2 separate regions of the Homo sapiens genome follow, and region 2 is linked to region 1. The links are contacts of gene promoters, found by promoter capture Hi-C in human tissues and cell types (Jung and others, 2019). All regions are on one chromosome and are shown on one strand. Each heading gives the region's core, a stretch centred on a gene start or on the middle of the fragment in contact. The rest is flanking DNA. Distances are from core to core; before and after follow the strand shown. Region 1 holds the start of MCMDC2 (minichromosome maintenance domain containing 2). Region 2 overlaps C8orf44-SGK3 (C8orf44-SGK3 readthrough).

Evidence for each region. The method cuts DNA at HindIII sites, captures the fragments that hold promoters and counts their contacts. A contact is called where the count stands out against the background at its distance.
Region 2: a contact is called between a fragment that was not itself captured here and the fragment with the promoter of MCMDC2 in region 1, in 1 of the 25 tissues and cell types used here (hippocampus).

What each region holds. Positions count from the first base shown.
Region 1 is chr8:66,866,890-66,874,162 of GRCh38, reverse strand. MCMDC2 (minichromosome maintenance domain containing 2) reads right to left here and starts at 3,392. Exons shown (of 15, transcript NM_173518.5): 1 at 3,332-3,392; 2 at 1-110. The coding sequence starts at 22. RefSeq lists an enhancer at 3,106-3,175. The HindIII fragment of the contact is 9,372 bases long and covers 1-6,737 here.
Region 2 is chr8:66,673,542-66,680,814 of GRCh38, reverse strand. C8orf44-SGK3 (C8orf44-SGK3 readthrough) reads right to left here. Exons shown (of 19, transcript NM_001204173.2): 2 at 791-1,094. C8orf44 (chromosome 8 putative open reading frame 44) reads right to left here. Exons shown (of 2, transcript NR_161217.1): 2 at 1-1,094. Among named protein-coding and RNA genes, the nearest start is that of C8orf44-SGK3, 9.6 kb to the right of the region's middle. The HindIII fragment of the contact is 5,996 bases long and covers 1,289-7,273 here.

The DNA.
Region 1 (7,273 bases), core at 2,143-4,642:
CTTTCATTTTTAGATTTGACATTTTCTCCTGGTTAATATTTCTAATTGATTAAACCACAATTGTTGATAAAAGCTATAGATGGCGAAACTCATAGAAAGGATGTGAAAACCTAGAAATAAAATTAATTTTATTTTTGAAAATCTCTAATAAGACTTTACAAATTATTAAAGTTGACAGTGAACTAAAACTAGGCAAAATTTCCAACTTAAAAACATTCCTACCCAATGAAAACAAAACTTTTGTTTTCTTTTGCCAAATAACTTCTTTTTTTTTTTGAGATGGAGTCTCGCTCTGTTGCCCAGGCTGGAGTGCAGTGGCGCAATCTCAGCTCACTGCAACCTCCACCTCCCAGGTTCAAGCGATTCTCCTGCCTCAGCCTCCCAAGTAGCTGGGACTACAGGTGTGTGCCACCATGCCCGGCTAATTTTTTGTATTTTTAGTAGAGATGGGGTTTCATTGTGTTAGCCAGGATGGTCTTGATCTCCTGACCTCGTGATCCGCCAGCTTCAGCCTCCCAAAGTACTGGGATTACAGGTGTGAGCCATCGCGCCCAGCCCAAATAACATTTTTATCAAGACTGTTATGAGATCCTCCACAAGATCGAAAACTTAAAAACAGGAACCTCAAATGTCTCTTAACAGAGGTACTCCCAAAAATGTTTGTTGAAATAAACAATATCTGATGATGAGGGTCCTTTCCAGGTGTTGTTTAAAAAATGAAACTGGTAAAAGTTGTTTCATAAATTCAATCTAAGTAACAAAATATAGTAGAATTAGTATTAAACTGGGAAACCTGAGAACTTGGTTCTAGACCCAGCATTTCCTGGTTGCTATGGGGAAATCATCTGACCTCTCTTGGCTCAGTATCTATCTGTAGGAAAGGAAAGTGTTGTATCAGATGATTAAAGCCCCTTCCAATTTTAAATATTGTGTCAGTGACCAACATAAAACATTAAACCACAGTAATGAGTAAAGAATGGAATATGTGAAATTCATTGAAAGACAGCAAATACTAATTGGAAACAATATATGTCAGTAGTTGTAACAGGTGCTAGAAATAAAATGATTAATAGGTGCTAAAATAAAATGATTAAGATTGGATCCTGCCTTTCAAGAAGTTGCTAGGCAGAGACAGAGAAGTCAGAAATAATGACTAACACGTTATTCATTCATTACCAGGTTGTTTTTTTTTTTTTTTTTTTTTTGAGATGGAGTCCCAACTCTGTCGCCCAGGCTGGAGTACAGTGGCACTATCTTGGCTCACTCCAGTCTCCACCCCTGGGTTCAAACGATTCTCCTGCTTCAGTCTCCCAAGTAGCTGGGATTATAGGCATGTGTCACCCGGCCCAGCTAATTTTTGTATTTTTAGTAGAGACGGAGTTTCACCATGTTGGCCAGGTTGGTCTCGAACTCCTGACCTCAAGTGATCTGCCCGCCTTGGCCTCCCAAAGTGCTGGGATTACAGGCGTGAGCCACCGCACCCGGCCTCATTACCAAATATTTATTTGGCACCTACTATAGGTTGGATACTAGATTGTCCTAGGCACTTAAGGATACTAAGATGAGTAAAATATTGTCCCTATCCTTCAGAAAGAGTGCAGTGAGAGAAGACATATATGTAAACAGTTACATGGCAATTTAAGTGCTGTAATAGAAATATGAATATACCAGGTAGCATGAAAGGAACAACATATATGAAATATTTCACAAAATTTGGGGTCATCCTTGTATATGGGTCATAACATTTTCCATTATTTTAAGACATTTTCATTGAAGATGGTGGGGTCATAGGGAAGAAGGTATGAATTCTACTTTAAGGTGACATTTGATAGACGACTATTTCACTAATTGGAGGAGAGGTGAAGAGAAAGAGAAAGTGTTCCAGAGATGGAGGTCACCTTCCACCCTCATTATCAGTTTTACACTACTGGATCCACACACCCACTACGTGGAGTTCAGGCTACTTTCCAAAGAAAACCAATTAAGACTGTCCTTTTTGCTACAACATAAAAGTGAAACTTTAGCGTTTATTTCTCCGTGGCCATAAGGACAATGATCTCAAAATGTGTGTTGTGTTCAGAACATCACATCTTTGCTGCACTAGAACATTAGGTTTCTGGGGTGGAATGAAGGGCGACTATTGGTAATTAAATGGTTGGGTGAGGCCAGATTATGTACGCTTTTGAAGATTATATAGGCAAAGGGAAGCCATCAAAGTTTTTTTAAGGGGGTTAGTATTATAGTCAGATTTTTTTTTTTTTTGAGACAGGGTCTCACTATGTTGCCCAGGTTGGAGTTGCAGTGGCGTGATCTCGGCTTGCTGCAGCCTCTACCTCCCGGGCTCAAGCTATCCTCCCTTCTCAGCCTGGGACTATAGGCACGTGCCACCACATCCAGATAATTTTTAATTTTTTTGTAGAGACGGAGTTTTACTGTGTTGCCCAGGCTGGTCTCCAACTCTTGGGTAGCTGTCTCATCCTCCCAAAGTGCTGGGATTACAGGTATGAGCCACTACGCCTAGCCCATAGTCAGATTTTTATTTTGGAAACCTGTGCCTGCTGCCAATGTGGAAAGTAGGTTGGAATAGCGGGAGAGCTGATAATCAGTTTCTACCTATTGGGATATTCCTACAAGTTGGATGGCCTGATCCAGGGCATTAGGAACGAAATGGAATGGAGGAGATCGATTCTAGAATTTTAAAGATTGCACACTGGACCTGGTGATCAGTCTACAATACGCAGAAGAGTAATCGAAAGCTAAGTGGGGTTTTAATATGGGTATGGGTGGATGCTGCTGCTCTAATGGAAATACAGAGCCCAAGGAGAAGTGTTAAGGACATGAGGAAAAGTTCCCTTGAGATATCCTGACTTTGAGGACTCTTGGGATTCCCTGATAGATGTAAGCAGGAGGGGGCCATAAATCAGGGCCTGGAGTTCGGTGGCATCAAAAGAGTTAGAGCTAAGTCTGGGTGTCACTGCGTAAAGCGGAGGCCCTGGGGAGTGGACGCGTTTTCACGGAGGCATATTAAGTCGGGAAAAGACATAGAAGCCTGTGGAAAAGCGTTAAGTGAGGGAACAGGGATAAAATTCTAACTCCCTGTCTTCCCTTAGTCTAACGAACGCCGAGTGTTGCTGCACGTGGAACAGGCGCGGATTCTGTCTTCTCTCCGTGCCCTGTCAGCACCGGGGATGAACTGGTGAGGGGAAGACTGCAGGAAAACACTTCACAACCAAAGCGGATGAAAGCGAGTCCAGACTCATGAGGACCCCTCCCACTGACAGCGGTGACCTCGAGTTAGTGGGACCCCAGCGCTGTAGTGCTTTGCACTCACCTTGACTCCCACCAAGCTTGGCGGTTGCTCTCCGCCTGCAGCGTAGGCGGAGCGGAGTCCTAGCGCGCATGCGCGCACGTCCCGGCCGTTGGCTGCGTCGCGGGGCCTGCCGGGACCGCCCGCGCCCTCGGGTCAGCAGGGGAACTAGCCGGGCTTGTTCCCTTACGTTTTAATAGCTTCACTCTTGCTCCCTCCCAGCGAAGCAGAGAAAAAATAGGTCTACGTTTGGTTTTTGTTGTTATCTCAGGCAAATGATGTTATGTTTAAAAAATTCAAAACGCTGCTTCAGGGAATGCAAAATGTCTAGTCACTTTAGAAGACATTCCAGTATTCCCTCGAAGGACTCAACATAAAGTTACCCTATGATCCAGTAATTCCACTCTTAGGTATTTATAAATACACCCAAGAGAATTGAAAACATATGTTCACACAGAGACTTCTACACGAATGTTCATAGTATTATTCATAGTAGCCCCAAAGTGGAAACAATATGAATGCCCATCACCGATTAATGGATAACTGTGGTGTAAGCCATACAATGGAATGGTTTTGGCCATAAAACGTGATGAGGCACTAATACATGCTACAACATGGATGAACCTGGCAAACACTATGTAAGAAGCCAGACACAAAAGGCCATATGTTGTGTAATTTTGTTTATATGAAATGTCCAGAATAGGCGAATCCATAAGGAAAGAAAGCAGATTTGTGGTTGCCCAGAGGTTGGTTGAGAATGCAGAATGATTGCTAATGCGTATGGGATTTCTTGTTCTTTTTAAATTGTGGTAAAATATACATAAAATATACAATTTTAACCATCCTAAAGTGTAGTTACACTACCTACGTTCACACTGTGCACTCATCACCACTATCTGTAGAACTGTTTTCATTTTCCCAAACTGAAACTCCATACACATTAAACAACTCCCCATTCTTCTCTTCCTCATCCCCTGGCAACCATCAGTCTTTGCTTCCTTGAATTCGACTACTCCAGGTACCTCATGTAAATAGAATCAAACAGTATTTGTCCATTTGTGATGGGCTTATTTCACTTTGCCAAACATCTTCCAGTTTCATCCATGTTGTAACATGTTAGAGTTTCCTTCCTTTTTAAGGCTGAATAATATTCCACTGTGTGTGTACCATATTTTTTGTTGTTCATGAATTCACACAGGTTTTCTTTTAGAAGTGATGGAAATGATCTAAAATTGATTGTGGTGATAGTCACACAACTCTGAATCTACTGAAAGCCAGTTGATTGTACATTTTAAATAGTTGAATTGTACAGTACTTGAATTAAATCTTATTGAGGTTGGCCGGGTGCGGTGGTTCACGCCTATAATCCCAGCACTTTGGGAGGCCAAGGCGGGTGGGTCACTTGAAGTCGGGAGTGGACACCAGCCTGGACAACATGGTGAAACCCCATCTCTACTAAAAATACAAAAATTAGCCAGGTGTGGTGGCGCGCGCCTGTAATTCCAGCTACTCTGGATTAATACTATTAGCAGACAGGATAATCACTTGAACCCAGGAGGCAGAAGTTGCAGTGAGCAGATATCGCACCATTGCACTCCAACCTGGGCGATAGAGCGAGACCCTGTCTCCAAAAAAAAAAAAAAAGAAACTGTTACCAAAAAACCCCAAACCCTTAAATTGTACCTGCTTCTCCACCATTAGTATTTCCTTTTTTTTTTTTTTAAGACAAGGTCTACCTGTGTCCCAGGACACAGTGGCCCAATCAGGGCTCATTGCAGTCTCAATCTCCTGGCTCAAGTGATCCTCTCACCTCAGGCTCCCAAGTAGCTAAGACTTCAACTATGCCTGGCAAACTTGTAAATTTTTTTTCGTAGAGACAGGGGTCTCATTTTGTTTCCCATGCTGGTCTCATACTCCCGGGCTCAAGCAATCATCCACCTCAGCCTCCCGAAGTGCTGGGATTACAGGCATGAGCCACCGTGCCTGGCCTCAACCTTTAGTGTTCTTGATACAGTTATCAACTCTGCTCCATTGCATTGGGTTGGATCATTTTCCATGAAAAAGTAATTGAGGTCATCCCTTTTCATATATAATAGGAGTGGCAAAACACCTCAGAGTTTGTTTCTCTGGGAGAATATAATCTATTTTAGTTGTGAGATAAAATACTTTTTCAGAGTAGAAATCAATTTACAACAACAATGAGGATGTTCAAATTGTCTTGTACTACAATTCTGTGGTAATAACTACAGTTTTAGATGGGAATAGGCTATGGTCTGGTGATGGCCATTGTATTTTAAAGTAGAATAAATTCTTCTAGAGGGTATCCATATATTTTAAAGTTTTTTTTGAGATGGAGTCACACTGTGTTGCCCAGGTTGGAGTGCAGTGGCATGATCTCTGCCTCCTGGGTTCAAGCAATTCTCATGCCTCAGCCTCCCGAGTAGCTGGGATTACAGGCACATGCCACCACGCCTGGCTAATTTTTGAGTTTCTCGTAGAGTTGGGGTTTCACCATGTTGGCCAGGCTGGTCTTGAACTCCTGACCTCAGGTGAACCTCCTGCCTTGGCCTCCCAAAGTGGTGGGATTGTTATAGGCATGAGCCACCGCGTCTGGCTATTTTAAAGTTTTGATTAATCAGTTCATAGCATAACATCGTTCGTTTCTGCACCAGAGTAATAGTTTTATATCAACCAAGTCCAGCAAAATCTTCTAATAGATTTTTATGTATTTAATACATCCTATAAAATATCTGCACAGTCAGGCATGGTGGCATGCACCTGTAGTCCCAGCTACTAGGGAGGCTGAAGTGGGAGGTTGCAGTGCATTATGGTTGCACCACTGGACTCTGGCCTAGGTAAAAAGTGAGACTCTTAGAAAAAAAAAATCTGTTAGACCTAAAATTGGAATTTAAAACCTTAAGAATTCAGCACATTTTATACATTGCAAACTCTCTGAAAATGATAGCGATATCTAGAGTCAAAATGCCATTGCTGCTTATTGCTACATACTTACAATACTTTATTTTTACAAAACATCACTAAACAGCAGAAAGAAATTACATGCAATCTGGTAAAATGGCTCAAATATTAAGGTGGTAGAATTATGAATTATTTTTATTTTTGCCTTTCATATAGCTTTTTTGCCTTTTAATATTTTTCATTGAGGTATAATTCATATGTAGCAAAATGAACGGCTCTTACATATTGTCTTATGAGTTTTTGAGTTTTGAGAAACACAAAGCTTTTATTTTTTATTTTTTGTTTTTATATTATTATTATTATTATTATTATTATTATTATTATTTTGAGATGGAGTTTTGCTCTTGTCTCCTAGGCTAGAGTGCAATGGCTTGATCTTGGCTCACTGCAACCTCCGCCTCCCAGGTTCAAGTGATTCTCCTGCCTCACCCTCCTGAGTAGCTGAGATTACAGACACCTGCCACCATACCTGGCTGATTTTTGTATTTTTAGTGAAGACAGAGTTTCCCCATGTTGGCCAGGCTGGTCTCGAACTGCTGACCTCAGGTGATCCACCTGCCTTGGCCTGTCAAAGTGCTGGGGTTACAGGTGTGAGCCACTGCACCTGGCCAATTTTTTATTTTTAAAATTTTTTTCAAAGCTTTCTTTTAATTTTAATTTTTAAATTCTGTTTATTTTTGCCATGACATATTTTCATCAGATAATTAAAAAAAATTTTTTTAGACACGGTCTCACTCTGTCACCCAAGCTGGAATGCAGTGGTGCCATCTCAGCTGACTGCAACCTCCATCTCGTGGGCTCAAGGGATCCTCCCGCTTCAGCCTCTGCAATAGCTGGAACTATAAGTGCATGCCACCACACCTGACTTAACAGGTATTTTAAAGGATGTATTAAATACAGAAAAATCTATTAGAAGATCCTTCTGCCTCAGCCTCCCTAGTAGCTGGGACTACAGGTGTGCACCACCACACCCAGCTAATTTTTTTT
Region 2 (7,273 bases), core at 3,037-5,536, 190 kb after region 1:
TGGCAATCTCAATTATGGGTAAATGTGTGTCACATTATCTCCTTTACATTTTAAGTATTTCATAATTAAAAAAAAAAAGCAGAGAAAATTGTTTATCAGAGGAAACCTCAGAAGAGATGAGGCAGTCGTCAGCAAGTAGAAGGCTCCCTTTCAGGAAACTGAAACCGGGTGCCAGGTGGCTGCAGAGCGGGTGAGAGCTTAGCCCCCACCTCTCCACTGGAACCTAGTGACCCCATGCAGATAACAACCTGCCCAACTCTTCAGCCCTGACCTGGCATCATATTTATCTATAACTGGCAGTTCTTCTCTGACAGGATAGATTAATAAACATTAAAACACATCTAAAATTTATTTACCTGTTGTTCATGCAGGTATGCTAGTGTTCAGTCAGCATTTGTAAGACATTCGTTGTAAACAAAGCACTGAATTAGACAGAATAGATGAACAGAAAGATAAACAAGACCTGGCCAAATGTTGCCCCAAATCCATACCTGATGGAGACAGGAAGGGCCTTTAGTGCTTGTGTGTCAGTGGTGATACTATTCACTTTCATTTTTTTTCTGCCACATTTCATTTTCATACCAATTCTGGTTAGTGGGTTTCATTTATTCTCATTTTACAGATGAGAACGACCAGAGATGTTAGCTTGCCCAAAATTACTCAAATACTAAATGACAAAGCTAAGAGTATCATGTCCGAGGTAACAGGTCTGACTCCAGAGTTCATGTTCTCTCCTTATCATCCTATTTTATAAGTCACAAAAACATGAATACAGCAAAATTTCACTTACTCAACACTCCCGGGGATGAGTCATGCTGGACAGATGAATAAGTGAAAGGCTATCCTCTGAGAAATATTGTTCAAAACCTTCCAAGGTTAGAGAACAGAAGACTCCAGAAGCCTTTGGACAGTCTTTTCCTCCCTGTGATTCTTTTCCTCTTGGGCTTCTGGGATTTCAAACTCGGTACATCTGGTCTCTTGGAGACACATCCTCCCTGGAAGCTCCAGCAGAAGATGGCCAAAGACCCCTTTTGCCTTTTCTGCTTCTCCAAAGCACAAATGAGAGACTGATAATTCAGAAATAATTCTAATACCTACAAAATGAGAACAAAACAGGAAATACTTAAAAGCAGTCAGGTTTTCAAAGCACAGCTTTCTGATACTCACCCAGTCCTCTATCTTAAAACACTACCCCTTGGTTCTAGAGGGTGTGATGGCTATGCAGGTCTGTTTCTCATTTGTCAGCATTTTGCTATCTCCTGGACAAGCAGCTTTCAGTATTTATCTTGTCTGTAGTCCTAGAAATGGGTCTAATGATTCATTCTACTTCCATACGTAACCTCCCTGAATTTTAGTTTTGTCATCTGTATAAAAAGGGAATAAAAACATCTAACTCATAAAGACAAATGGGGAAACCATGTATGCATATCACACACAGTAAGCACTCCTATTAGTTGTCCAAGTCCAAACAGCTGGTAAGTAAGAGCTGGGACTCCATCTAGCCAGATTGGCTCCAGAATCAGTGTTTCTAATCACCTGTGGTGAAAGTCAACCACTCACACCTGCACCCCACTCAGTTTGCCTTTCTAGTTCATCTCTATCCCCAACCAGGGCCCACAAGCTGATACCACAGCAAGAACAGAATTGAGGGAACAGAAAGAGCCTATGAATCTATCGTATCATATACAGAGGGTATAATTTATGACTAAAGATGCAGCTACTTTATAATCTTCTGTACAGTTTGAATTCTTAAGAGTAGGCATCTAATACTTCCATAAGCAATAAAAAACATATAAATTCATTTTAGGATAAAAAATTACCAAACCTAGGAACTTTGGAAAGGAAGGAATTGCATATAGTTTTCATGTGTTTAATGTCAGTTAAATTACTAGAAACTTATCAGTAAATAGTATTTTCCTGTATCATGACAGTGGCTAAGAATAAGGGTTAAGAGTAGACATGTGTTGAATTCCAGCAACACTACCTTACACTACCAACACTACCTTACTAGCTGAACTTTACCTAACTTAGAATTCTGAGGGTGTTCTCACCTATAAATGGGAATAATAATACCTATCGTATGGGGTATTGTTAGGCTTCAGACAGTATAAATGAGGTGCTTGGTATGGTGCCAGGTTCATCACAAGCACTCAATATTTTTCTTTCTACAATATCACTTCTATGGCTGAAGAGTATCCCATCTCATGGGGATGTGCCATGATTCACTTACCCAGTCTCATACTGTTATTGATATCTTCAATTTTGTCAATAATATAAACAACAGCAAATTTTTTTCACACATTTCTGTTTATTTCTTTAGGGTGAAACCCTATAAGTGAGATGCTGGATCAAAGGATATGAGCATTGTAAACTTTTGACACACATTATCTACCAAACATAGTTTTACTAAGTTAAACCTTCTCTATATTAAAGGTATTTATTCAGCTCTTACCAATACTGTATATTATTTTAAAGATCTATGCTAATTTTATAGGCCAAAAAAACACAAACAACTCATATTGTTATGTACACATTTATTAGACATTTCAGTTTCTTTTGTTATGTTATAAAGCTCTTGGGCTCCTTAAAGTATGACCTGGCACAAAAAGAGAAAAACAATTTGAGTATGTAAAATTTTTAACGTAGTGTATTACGGAGGTGGCATTTCAAGTCATTTATGAGAGGATGAATTTTTCCAATGGGTTTTTTTTTTATTTTTGAGACGAAGTCTCGCTCTGTTACCCAGGCTGGAGTGCAACGGCACGATCTCAGCTCACTGCAACCTCTGCCTCCCAGGTTCAAGTGATTCTCTTGCCCCAGCCTCCCAAGTAGCTGAGATTACAGGTATGCACCACCGCACCTGGCTAATTTTCGTATTTTTAGTAAAGATGGGGTTTCGCCATGTTGGCCAGGCTGGTTTCGAACTCCTGACCTCAGGTGATCTGCCTGCCTTGGCCTCCCAAAGTGCTGGGATTACAGGCATGAGCCACCGTGCCCGGCCTTTCCAGTGGTTTTCGAAGTGCTCCCGACAGCCTCCCATGAGGGAAAGTGTGGGAATGGGGATAGGGGGTGCTGGCTGGTTGAGATAACTCTCATTCTTCCTCATTTCAACTACGTTAATCTGTTCTACATACTGAATTTATTGGTAAGCTTTGATCTGAAGGGTTCCATACCTGAAAAGAAAAACAAAAACACATTTAACGCAAGGTTTGGAAATAACTGGCATTTTTCAATCAATAAATACATACACAAAATGAGTTGAATGTCTTTTACATCATATACAAAAATACATTTCAACTGGATTAAAACATTAAATGGAAAAAAGCCCACAGAAATGACAACATAAGGAAGCATTAACTGATCTTGGGGATAAAGAGGACCTTTTCCAACACACTGATAAAAGCAAAAACTGTAACAAGAGGCACTATTGTCTGTATTGGTTTTTCCTAAAGTGTGCGCCTCTGATACAGGTTCAAAATGGTTTCATGGCCATAGAAGTGTGAAAATGCTACATATCAATAATTGCGCAGAGAGGGCCAAGCGCGGTGGCTCACGCCTGTAATCCCAGCACTTAGGGAGGCTGAGGCAGGTGGATCATTTGACGTCAAGAGTTTGAGACCAGCCTGGTCAACATGGTGAAACTCGTCTCTACAAAAACTACAAAAATTAGCCGGGTGTTGTAGCAGGTGCCTGTAATTCCAGCTACTTGGGAGGCTGAGGTAGGAGAATCGCTTGAACCTGGGAGGCAGAGGTTGCTGTGGGCCAAGATTGCACCACTGCAATGCAGCCTGGGTGACAGAGCGAGACTCTGTCTCAAAAAATAAATAAATAAAAAAAATAGTGCAGAGGTGGCTTAGGGCACTAACATCCAATTATTTCTATCAGCATCCCAGATCACCACAAAATACACACTCGATATGAAACAATGTGCAGAAGGACATCTTCTAGTGTTGTGTGCCCCAAGCAGACTCCTGACATTAAGCCCTTCTTTTTCCTAGACATTCTAGAGCCATCACTGTTGCTCTCTGGAGAGTCACAATGTCCTTAGCAAAGAAAGGCTATGAGAAGACCTAAAGTGGAAAAAGAATAAAACTAATTTAGTCCGCATTTGACTACAGAACCCTTCCTTCAACATGATGCCTACTAATATCCACAGAATTCATGGCACATAACCTGCCAAATGCCAGGCTATGTGGAAATTAATGTTTGAACAGGAAAATGTTGTACCAGAGGTGTCCTTGTAAAGGATGTAGTCCATTTCTTGCGATTTTACTGATACTCAATTTGAGGCCCTCTTTGATGTAATCTGCGGACACCTAGTGCTGATGCTTTAATTTAAGTACATACACATAATTTCCTACAATAAACTGCTGCCCATCTACATAAAAAACCCTGCTTGCAGACTGCCTTATATTTAAATTCTTATACATCATCACAATGCACTTATATCTTGGAATAATACGAAAGGATTTATTTAAATGATCCACAGGGTTAAAAAAGAAGTATGCAGGCTTGTGCTTTTGCTCTTACCTATTAAAATGTCTTCCGCAACTACAGATGTAGAAAGTATGTCAGGTACTTCTTATTCTGATTTTTATGTCATACAAAAGGAACTGAATTAGACTGTGTTTAGGAGACAGAGTTAAATGGGTCAGAGAGAGGGATCAGGCCCTTCTACAAAAACTAGAATGTTACTAGAATGAAGATATAACAAGTGTTTCACTTAAGCAAATTCTTAAACTTTATATTCTTCCACCCTAAAAGCACCCTTCAGGTTCTAAATAAAGGGAAAATAAAGACAGGTAACAGGCAAAGGTAATAGAATTGCAGTGATAAGCATTCTTCTGCTCCAACAATATTGGTTGTTTGGTTTTGCCATTTAAAATTAATAGTAACTCGGCTGGGCGCGGTGGCTCACACCTGTAATCCCAGCACTTTGGGAGACTGAGGCAGGCGGATCACCTGAGGTCAGGAGTTCAAGACCAGCCTGGCCAACATGGCGAAACCCCGTTTCTACAAAAATAAAATAAAATAAAATACGAAAATTAGCTGGGTATGGTGGCACATGCCTGTAATCCTAGCTACTCAGGAGGCTGAGGCAGGAGAATCGCTTGAACCTGGGAGGCGGAGATTGCAGGGAGCCAAGATTGCACCACTCCATTCCAGCCTAGGCAACAGAGTGAGACTCTGTCTCAAATAAATAAATAAATAAATAAATTAAATAAAATAAAATCAATAGTAACTTGAATTGTAAAGTGTTAGCTTTATGAGCATTAAGATTCAACTTCTGATCTATTTCTACGTTAAATGTGTCTCTGTATGTTTATTTTTATTTTAGAGACAGCATCTCTCCCTGTCACCCAGGCTGGAGTGCAGTGGTACTATCATAGCTCACTGCAGCCTCAAACTCCTGGGCTCCATCAGTCCTCCTGTCTCAACCTCCTGAGTAGCTAGGACTACAGGCACACACCAGTACAGCTGGCTAACTTTTAAAAATTTTAAATTTATTACTTGTAGAGATGGGGTTGACCAAGTTGTTCTTGAACTCCTGGCCTTAGGTAATCCTCCAGTCTAAGCTTCCCAAAGTGCTGAGATTACAGGCATGAGTCACTGCTCCCAGGCCCTCTGTACATTTAATAATGTCAATGCAAAAACAGCTGTTTGCACAAATACACTGCATTATTAACTTCCTGGTCTTCTGTTGCTAGTTTGAAATAATCAGATCTCAAATTTTAACAAAAATTCTGGCACTACAAAACCCTGGAAAGCCAGTTTTATTTGAATATCACTCGATTAGAGTCTACTCACTTTAAGATAAGGTTAGTATTTTTTCGACTATTTTAAATCTGAATTATATGGTATCTAATTTAAGCCTTCCTGGGAAATAAAAAAAAATTCCTCATTGTGTATTTACTACTTTACTTACAGTGACTAAGTTGTTGCAAATATATGTAAGTGCATGTGTGTTATGTGCAATTTCTATTTTTAGTAGGAACGTGGCACCAACAGTTACAGCACTGAGTTTGCCATGGGCTACTGTGTGACATGTGATGACTCAACTCTCCCACCTCTTTTCTCAAAATGATCGTGAAACCTTACACGTTTTGTCACAATGTTCATTGGCTTTCAACTGATAAAAACAAAATCCTAAACTTGGTGTGAATTCAGGCTCTCAAAACTTCATGTTTTAAGGTACTCATCTGGAAAAATCACAATATGACTTTGCTTTAGATTAGCATCAAAATGACAACATAAACATTTTTAAACTGCAACCAAATGGTGGATTCTCCAGGAACTTATGCTTGAATATCAGGCTGAAACACACTGCCATAGATGATAGCCATTAATTCATTCAACAATATCTATTCAGGCTATATATGCCTGGCACAGGGAATCCAACAATCAACAAACTGCCTGCCCTTATGAAAAGCCTTACTAAAGAGTCTAGTGGGGAAGGATGACAACAGACAAGTAATCATATAATTCCTGATGATTAGTGGTATAAAGAAAATGAGTGGGGGCCAGGCGCAGTGGCTCACGCCTATAATCCCAGCACTTTGGGAGGCCAAGGAGGGTGGATCACCTGAGGTCAGAAGTTCGAGACCAGCCTGACCAATATGGTGAAATCCCGTCCTACTAAAAATACAAAAATTAGCCGGGTGTGGTGGCAGGCGCCTGTAGTCCTAGCTACTTGGGAAGCTGAGACAGGCAAGTTGCTTGAACCCAGGAGGGGGAGGTTGCAGTGAGCCAAAATCATGCCACTGCACTCCAGCCTGGGTGACAGAGCCAAAAAAAAAGAAAAGAAAAGAAAATGAGTGGGATAGGGGAAGAGAGAAAAAGGATAGAGGTGTTGTTTTAGAGACACTGGTTAGAAAAGCCATCTCACTGGAACTGAGATTTGAGCTGACAACTATATAAATTCTACCTGGGAGTTTTCCAGGCAGAAGAGCAAGTGCCAAGGTCCTGAGACAGGAATGTACTTGGAATGTTTGAGGACCCACAAGGAGGCCAGTGTGGCTGAAGCACACAAGCCACGGAAATAATGTCAGAGAAGCCAGGTGCCTGATTACACAGGGTCCTTTATGTTGTAGTGATGACTTTGTTGGTCCTTAAAAAAGAAAAAGGATTGCAGGAGGCATGCTTCAGACAGACTGAGGATGGAACTTCTAGCTCTGGAACTCAATTTTTTTCTTTTACTTTTAAAAATCCACCTCACTGGGCCAGGTGCAGTGGCTCACACCTGTAATCCCAGCACTTTGGGAGCCCGAGGAGG